3 separate regions of the Homo sapiens genome follow, and all the other regions are linked to region 3. Evidence: promoter capture Hi-C in human tissues and cell types (Jung and others, 2019). All regions are on one chromosome and are shown on one strand. The core of a region is centred on a gene start or on the middle of the fragment in contact, and the rest is flanking DNA. Distances in the headings are between cores, read along the strand shown. Region 1 holds the start of LINC02817 (long intergenic non-protein coding RNA 2817). Region 2 overlaps LOC105372932 (a long non-coding RNA gene). Region 3 holds the start of HLX (H2.0 like homeobox).

Evidence for each region. Contacts are between HindIII fragments. The study calls those that stand out against the background at their distance.
Region 1: a contact is called between a fragment that was not itself captured here and the fragment with the promoter of HLX in region 3, in 1 of the 25 tissues and cell types used here (IMR-90 fibroblasts).
Region 2: a contact is called between a fragment that was not itself captured here and the fragment with the promoter of HLX in region 3, in 1 of the 25 tissues and cell types used here (IMR-90 fibroblasts).

What each region holds. Positions count from the first base shown.
Region 1 is chr1:221,334,079-221,336,778 of GRCh38, reverse strand. LINC02817 (long intergenic non-protein coding RNA 2817) reads left to right here and starts at 483. Exons shown (of 2, transcript NR_024236.1): 1 at 483-916. The region is part of intron 2 of LOC105372932 (a long non-coding RNA gene); the gene reads right to left. RefSeq lists an enhancer at 154-1,353. The HindIII fragment of the contact is 3,465 bases long and covers 1-2,700 here.
Region 2 is chr1:221,305,854-221,308,553 of GRCh38, reverse strand. LOC105372932 (a long non-coding RNA gene) reads right to left here. Exons shown (of 4, transcript XR_922621.2): 2 at 1,578-1,691. Among named protein-coding and RNA genes, the nearest start is that of LINC02817, 29 kb to the left of the region's middle. The HindIII fragment of the contact is 3,269 bases long and covers 1-2,700 here.
Region 3 is chr1:220,878,117-220,880,816 of GRCh38, reverse strand. It overlaps HLX (H2.0 like homeobox), which reads right to left and starts at 1,374. Exons shown (of 4, transcript NM_021958.4): 1 at 368-1,374. The coding sequence starts at 959. It overlaps HLX-AS1 (HLX antisense RNA 1), which reads left to right and starts at 677. Exons shown (of 3, transcript NR_046901.1): 1 at 677-968. RefSeq lists an enhancer at 41-649 and a silencer at 1,768-1,817. The HindIII fragment of the contact is 15,886 bases long and covers 1-2,700 here.

The sequences.
Region 1 (2,700 bases), core at 107-2,606, 460 kb before region 3:
TGATGGCAGGTAAGTCTGATTATTTCCCTGCAACAGAGAGAGAAACTGAGGCCTGGAACTCTACAAAAACTGTCTCCGAAACTCTTGGTGACAGAAGATGTTTCTGCAAATGGGTACTGCATGACACATAGGGCCCGGGGCACCTTAAAGAGAGAATCTTGATTTTTTTGAAAATGAAGGTAAATTAAAAATAAAACATATTCTTTTTGTAGAACATGAAGTAACTTTTGAATTCAGTTTATATGTTAAATGGCCCCAGTTTATATGTTGAACAGCCCCCAGGGGCAGTGCCATTGAAGGGGCTGGCTCAGGGTGGCCGGTCATTCTGACATTGTTCCCAGTTCTCCAGTATTGACCGTATCAGGAGAAAGGTTTTCACTTTCTCTTGGATCCTGACATCAGGGGGGAAAAATGCAGTGTCATAGAAAAAAAAAAAAAGTAAAGATCAGCAGACAAGAGGAAAAGTAACTGGTGAGTTTTGGATTTAGAAAAGTTTTGGATTCATCTGTTTATGAGGAGGAAAAGAGGCCAAGAAAAGGCAGCAATTTGTCCATGTGCTTAATTAGTGAGTGGCAGTGGCAGTAACCTGGTCTGCTGAGCTCCCTGGACTCCCTGATCCCAGCTCAAAATAGTTTCCAGTTTTCATCTGCCAGTTGCTTCGGAGGCTTTTCTAAGGAAGACAGTTCATAAAATGACCCAGAATTCATCCTCCTTAGGTGATAGGATCATTACTCCTTATACACCCCCTAGGTCTCAGCCTATGAACAAACACTTGTTTGTTTCTCTGTCTACCCTGTTCCAAACCACCGAACTGGATTTTGCCAACAAGAAGAGCTGTTTCCTGTGCCTGCCCCTGAGAGCTGATGGCTTCCCAGAGATGCCTCACAGTCCTGCGCAGACAGAGAGAATGCAGAAGGCAAGTCTCCTGGGGCCACTTGTGGACTCACGGTTTATAACTTCTTGGTTTTTTTATTGTTGTTGTTTTTTAAAGTCCTAACCCTTAGGCCACTGGCTAACTGATTTATCTTCCCTGGGCAGTGCTTGCCAGAGAGCGGTCACTATGGCCAGAAAGGGGAGGGGCTGTGTCTAAACTGGAATGTTGGAGGTTTTTAACATTTTATCTCTGTCACTCCCTACTGTAATCTCCATCTAACCGCAAAAATGTGGTAGCTTTGATCCACTGATGCTATCTTTCTCTATGTCCCCATACCCTTTCAGGAAGGAGCCTTCAATTCTCCAGACTGAGCTGCAGTACAACCTCAATACTCACCATAGTGAATTTCTCAGTCTTTTTCTCTTTGCTCCATGAAAGCACCCTGAATCTGAGATCTGGTTCAAAGGCTTTCTCCATTCAATCACTACTGGCTGATTAGGCAATGGCAATTTGAGCAATCTCTCTCTCTCTCTCTCACACACACACACACAGACACACACACACACACACACCAGTTTTCCACCACCAAAGGTCTCTTTTGTACAGAACAGTGACTCATTGTTGTGACAGTTTCTGCATCACTAAATGGAAACAATTGTAAGACATCCTCATCTTCCCAGGGCATGAGCTGCTTCAAAAACAGAGAAGCACAAAAGAAAATATTTGTATCTGGCAGTTTTTGCCATTCAGTCACCTGCTTTCCTACTTGGGTTCAGGAGCTGGCTTGATTCCTGCTGTCACCATGCTGGTTATGTGACTCCACTGTCTCCAAGAGACTCCCTTGATGGGGAACATGATTTTGCAACAACCATCCCTTGCGCTTTCTCCTCTTTTCTGGATGGAAATGAAGCATTGCTACCCTATGGCTTAAAGCAGGAGTCCCCGTCCCCAAATGCCACAGACCTGTACCAGTCAGTAGCCTGTTAGGAATCGGGCCATACAGAGGAGGTGAGTGGAAGGCGAGGAAACATTACCGCCTGAGGTTCGCCTCCTGTCAGATCAGCCACGGCATTAGATTTTCGTAAGAACGCGAACCCTATTGTGAACTGCGCATGCCAGGGATCTAGGTCACGTGCTTCTTACGAGACTCTAATGCCTGAGGACCTGAGGTGGAACAGTTTCATCCCGAAACCATCCCCCACCCAACCTCATCCATGGAAAAAATTGTCTTCAATAAAATCGATCCCTGGTACCAAAAAGGTTGGGGACCACTGGCTGAAAGAATTTAGACTAGGGGCTGCCAGTCCATGTTAACATGTGTTTAGTTTCCCCTCGGATGACTGCCCAATAAACTACCTGAGTGCCCTAGAAATCATAGTTACAGAGGCTCAAGGGTGATGACAATGTTCCAAGTCTCCATCTGTCCCCTTTAGTTCATTCAAGAAGTCTTTTCCCTAATGAGAAGAAAATGCTTTTTAAAAAAAGAAATAATTGCTACAAACCTGTAGCACACCAGCCTTAGGACATATTAGAGAAAACCTCCCCCATTGCTGGAGAGCTGGTTCTCAAATCTTAGCTGTTTATCCAAATACTTGACATCGACTTCCTCTTGGAATGTACTCTATCTCAAAGAGGAAGAAGAAATACACCAGTTTGTTGCTTATAAGTTGGCAGGAAAAGGCCTGCACATGATAAGCTTGGACTTCTATTTTAAGGCTTTATTTTTCCAAATAAATCCATATATACAAGGGTTTTGGAACCGAAATAGTCACTGAAAAGTTACACTTCATTGCCTGTTTGGCTGAAGCCAAGGCTAAAGTTCTCTG
Region 2 (2,700 bases), core at 108-2,607, 430 kb before region 3:
TTTATGGTAAAGGAGCAGCTTAACAAAAGCCAGAAGACATATTGTCATAGAGAGAAGTGTACCAGCCTGCTAGGCAGAGTGATGGGTAGGGAACAGGAGTGGTTTCCCAGATATGTGCTGAGTGGTGCTGCTCCACTCCACAGTGCACCTCATAGCTAGCTCACTGTGGCTGCCTGGACTCTTGGCTTCACCTCCATGTGGCAAGGATGTTTAGGGGCTAGTGAACTATGCAGGCTAAACTCAGCTTCTGACAGAATTGTACATCAAGGATCACCTGAACTCATTGAAAAGCCTTTGTTTTAATTTTTGCAAGCTAAATGGGGTTTTATTTCTCATTGCATATGATCTCATCCAACAAATGCCATTTCATGTGGCAAGGATAGTCAAAAATTTTTCCAAAACCATTTTCATGTAACTGGACTTTACTGTGAGAAGAAAAGCATCATTCCTTCCCTTGGAAGCTTTTGCCACCCTTCCTTGCTTATTCTACTCTGTCACACATTTCCATATTTTTATAGGCCCACAAAGCACTTAAGGTGAAGTGATAAATAGATCCCTGTCCAAATGCGTTCCTTTCTATTCACATCTTCTTCCATCCATTCACCTCCAAGGGTGTCTTTCTACCAGCTGATTAATTTAGTGTTTTTTAGCACTATGGTGCAATGCAAAGCTGCCTAAACCAATGATGGATTTATCTACCCTCAGACTCATGCTAACAGGCTATTGTTCATTCCTGACCACAGTTATAAAGACAATGAGAAGAAATCTGAACATGACAGCAAGTTTCAAGGCCCACCTATAACAGCTACAGACATCTGCCTGTTTCTGAGTCTGACAGGAGTTATTTCCATCAGACCATAAAAAAGCTATTTGGATAGTCCTTCTTAGGACATGTGGATATTTTTGTGCACTGATTCTGTTATACATAAAATAGAACTGAACAATTGCACTTTAAAGAGATTTTGTAGTTATCTCAAATCTCTAAACCCTATGGTCTCCAAGCAAACATATGGACCAATGCCCAGGAGGAGTGAAAACAAACAGGACCTTCCTGTCCCTTGTTGACTCTCCTAGCTCCAGCCATAGTTTTAGCTTTCCAGATCATATAGTTAATCCCATAGGGTTTCATGTATAGAGTCCTTGTCAGTAGAAAGAATTGCTCTAAGTCACGAAGGTAACAGTATTTACAAGGGGGCATTACCTTTATTTACCTCCAGAGGGTTCAAATTGCCTTTACTTACATTTCTTCATTTGCTTCTCCTAACAGTGCTAGAAGAAGATTATTCTTACTATATCCATTTCATTTATGAGAAAGGAAGACAGAGTGTTTGCATGATCTGATTACATTACGCATCTTCTAAGAGGCACAACTTGGAACTCCAACCTGGAAATTCAAGTCTAATCAGGCATCTTTCAACTGCACCAATTATTCCATTGAGATTTAGTGAGCACTGGGGAGTGCGAGCACCCTACTGGGTGTCCCCAGTAAGACAGCTCTCAAGTTTTTACAACCCAGTGGCTCTCTACCTAAGACCTCAGAGAACGTTTTAGTATAACAACTAGTATATTCCTCTCACCTGGTAATTTTCATCTTTTCCCCATGACCTTGGGATCCTCACATCTCTGTGATTTCCTCAAAATCAAGCACTGTATCTTGTTCAACTTTGTATCTGCAGCACCCAGCCCAGTGCCTGGAACCCAGGAGATAAGGGATGAGTTGAACAAATAAACAACTATACTAATGTAACAGATACAAGCATTAACAGTGCTAAAATAGTGGCATGAACAAAGTATAATGGCAACAGAAAGGGGGAAGTGACTAAGTCATCCCAGGAACTTGGGAAGGCTTCATAAGAAAGGTGACATTTGAGCCAGACCTTGACCAATTAGAAGGATTTCATAAAGTAGAGAGGAGAAGGAAAGACATTCCAGGTGGGGACTGTATGGATATATCAAAATCTTGTTAAATAAGGCGCTGCACGGCCTGACTGAAAAGTAGCACAGGGCAGCTAAAGGATCTGGGCTTAAAGAGGAGGCACAGATTATGACAGTAAATGAAATCAATTAAATGAATTAAATTTAATTAAAGTACTTAAATTACCGAAAATAAACTGTTTGAATTATTTTCATTTAAATTAATTACAATTGATTAATTAATTATTTAAATAAGAGGTCCTATCTCAAACTATAAGCTCCAAAGAATGTTGTTTTAAGCAAGACAGTTATTAAGAGGAAAATCCTCCACTCTTTTTTTACTGATAAAAAATACGTGTACGTATTTACAGGGTACATGTGATATTTTGTTACATGCATAGAAATCCCTACCTTTAAAGTGGGCATGGCTCACCTTGGTGCCTTCTCCCTGGGCTCCACCCTGTCCCTGCCTGGGAGGAGCTGGCCTGGCCCTCCAGGTTGGTGCAGCAAGCCCAGCCACACCTGGCATGCATTCCGGGTGCAGCCTGCAGCCGCACCTCCAGGACAGGCTGGTGTCTGAGCTGCAGTGCCTTTAGGGATCCCCAAGGCCCCCTCAATCAATAATCCCCAGGGTTTTTCATGAGGGTTGGATTATGAGGATTTGGAAGGGGGACGATTAAGCAGTACTTCAAAGAGGTGCTCGGGCCACACCTGCAGCATTTATGAAGATCTATTAATAGAAAGCACACAATTTAGCACTAATCCCTAATTCATAGAAAATCAATG
Region 3 (2,700 bases), core at 125-2,624:
GAAATCAGATAAGTGCGAAAGTGTTTCCCAAAAATGCTTTAGCTGTCAGAAAATATAATTCTGTCTCTAGATACATTATTAAAGAGATCAAAGTCATGTTAGCAGATAATTACACCAACCACTTTTATAAATATTGATTCTAAGACGTGTTTTTAAAGAATCCCTGGAGTCATTTTTTGTTTGTTTTACATAGAACAGGTGAGTTTTAGACCTAATGTTTTGTAGTTTTCTTACAATTCGTTTTCTTCTCTCCCGTTTTACCGATTTGTCCTTAATTGTAAAAACACTCAAAGGCACCCCAAGCCAGCCCGGGGTCCGGGGAGTGGGTCAGTGGTCAGAGGCCTGCAGCCTCCCGCCCAAGACCTACCTCTCAGCGTGTTGCCTTCTTTGACTTTTGGGTCAAATTCTGCAGATAAAATGCGGTCAATTCCAAATTTGAGGTCTTTGCTGGAGGGGGCCGGGGCAGAGCCACTGTGGTGGGGGTTCGGAACCACTCGCGTCCCCGAGGCCGGGGGCTGCAGGGCGCCAGCCCGGGGCGGAGGCGGAGGCTGTTGCTGCTGCGGCTGTTGCTGCTGCTGTTGTTGTTGCGGGTGATGGTGGTGGTAGGCGGCTGAGAGCGGAGACAGCCGCTGCGGGAAGCCAGCCGGGACTTCGGAGGGCGCCACCACTGGGGTGGGTCGAAGCGGGGATCTGGCCGCCGCTTGGAAAGAGGCGTGCGGGTGAACCGAGCCCAAGTGCGCGGTGAGGGCGGCGGCCGAGGCCCCTGCCAGGCCCTCCGGGGCCGCCCCCAGATCCCCCACGCCGGCGTGCAGAATGTCTGCGATGCAGAAGGAGGGCTTTTTGACGGCGGCGGGGTCCAAGGGGAAGGAGCAGCCGCCTGGGCCGGCCGAGGAGCAGTAAGCGGCCGACCAGAGGCTGAAGTTGGAGGCGTAGAAGGGAGCCAGCCCGGCTGCGAACATCCTGCCGGGGTGAGCCGCGCGGCTGCCGCAGTCCAGCCGGACTGGGTGGGTGGGCGCGCGGGGAGGGGCGCGCGAGTCCCGGAGAAGGCGGCGGCAGCCGAGGACGATCCGCTTTCGCTTCTCCGCCCGCACTGAGGAAGAGAGGCCGGGAGCCCTAGCGCCACCGAGGGAGGAGGCGAGGGCCGGATCTCGGCCGGTCACCGCCTCGCTCCCTGGCCTCGCTTTAAAGGCGGCGCGGCGCCCGCACTCCTCGCGGGCTGGATGAGAGCGAGGGGCGCTGGGGCCGCAGGGCGGGCGGGGGAGCCAGGGAGACGGGAGCCGGACACCGCAAGAAAACCCAAATAGCTAAGCCCTAAGAGCTAAATTTAAAACAACAACAATAATAGTCCGTTAGTTAGGGGGGGGGAAAAGTAATAGAAAAAAAAAAAAACTCGTCTCTAAAAACTCCCAAAGTTTTGGCAGGAGCTTTCGAGTCAGGCCCGGGGTAGGACCTCGATCCGAGCGCTCATTGGTCATCCTCGTGACCAATGGGAGCGGGGAGTGGAGGGGAATTAGGAACAAGGGGGCCTGGCCGGACCCTAGCCACGCCCCGGCCACGCCAAAGTTTTTGCTGCGGCCGCGTGGGCTTAGTAGCGCACATCGCAGTGCTTCTTGCTACTCTGCGTAGGGGCCAGGCAGCCGCTCCGGAGGGCTCTGACTCTCTTCTAACTTCTGCAGCTCCGAACCGCCACGGGGCAAGGAGGGTTGATCACAGGAGCTTTCCTGAAGCGCTTGTCACCCGGGGCGAGTTGGGGGCGTGGGGAAGGGACGGTAATCTCACTCTTTAGGGCTCTGCAAAGCCCGCCTCCCGGTGGAGAGCGGAGCGCGCTTTGGCCCCTTTGCTTCCCTTCTCTTGACCTCATTCTGCTTTTATTCCAGGAGTCCGTGTCCTCGGCAAAGCCCCTCATCTTTCCTGGGCCCTTGCCCAAATGTTGCCGCCCTGAGTCCCGGCCCAACTCAGCACCGCGTCCGCCTCGTGCCTCCCAGGAGATCCTCCGGGAAGCGAGGAGGAGGGGCGGCCGCAAATTGGTTTTATTCTGAGCTGTCACACAGTGACAAATTGAACGAGTGACTTTTCAAACAAAATAAGACGGATGGCTCCAAACGTCTCTCTTAGACGCAGCCAAACCTTTCCCCGGAGCCTCAGAGGCTACAAAACAGGCTGCCTCCCGAAACCCGGGAGAGCGGCACGCGCTTCCATCCTTTGCAGGAGGTTGTAGGAAATGTTAGCCTCACCCCTCCACCACATCTCCGGATCACGTGGGGTTCGTTGTTTTGCAAGTGCCCACAAGAGCAGATTTCCGTGGGGTTCAATACTGCTTTCAATTCTGTGACAGCTTCCCCAGGAACCCCTTGGGCCTGGTTGCAGGAGGAGCTGCGTGGTGGTCAACGTCTTCCATTCGTGCCTTGGGTCTTTAGAACGCAGGGTAGTGGTGGTGGAGGTTTTGTGCAACATCGACATATCTATTTTAAGAATTTCTTCTCTTTAAATTATAGTCAGAATGAATTTCCCCACCCCTCTCCCAAACAAACCACAGGCCACCCAGATGAGCTGTTCTTGCACATTTTCAGGAAGAAAATAAAATAATACGAATAATGAAACCACGAAAACTTTTGTTTTCGATTGCCCTAATAAGCATCTCCTAACAGGGATTCTGTGACATTTTTATTTCCCTTCAGCACGAAGGCTCCTCACCAAATA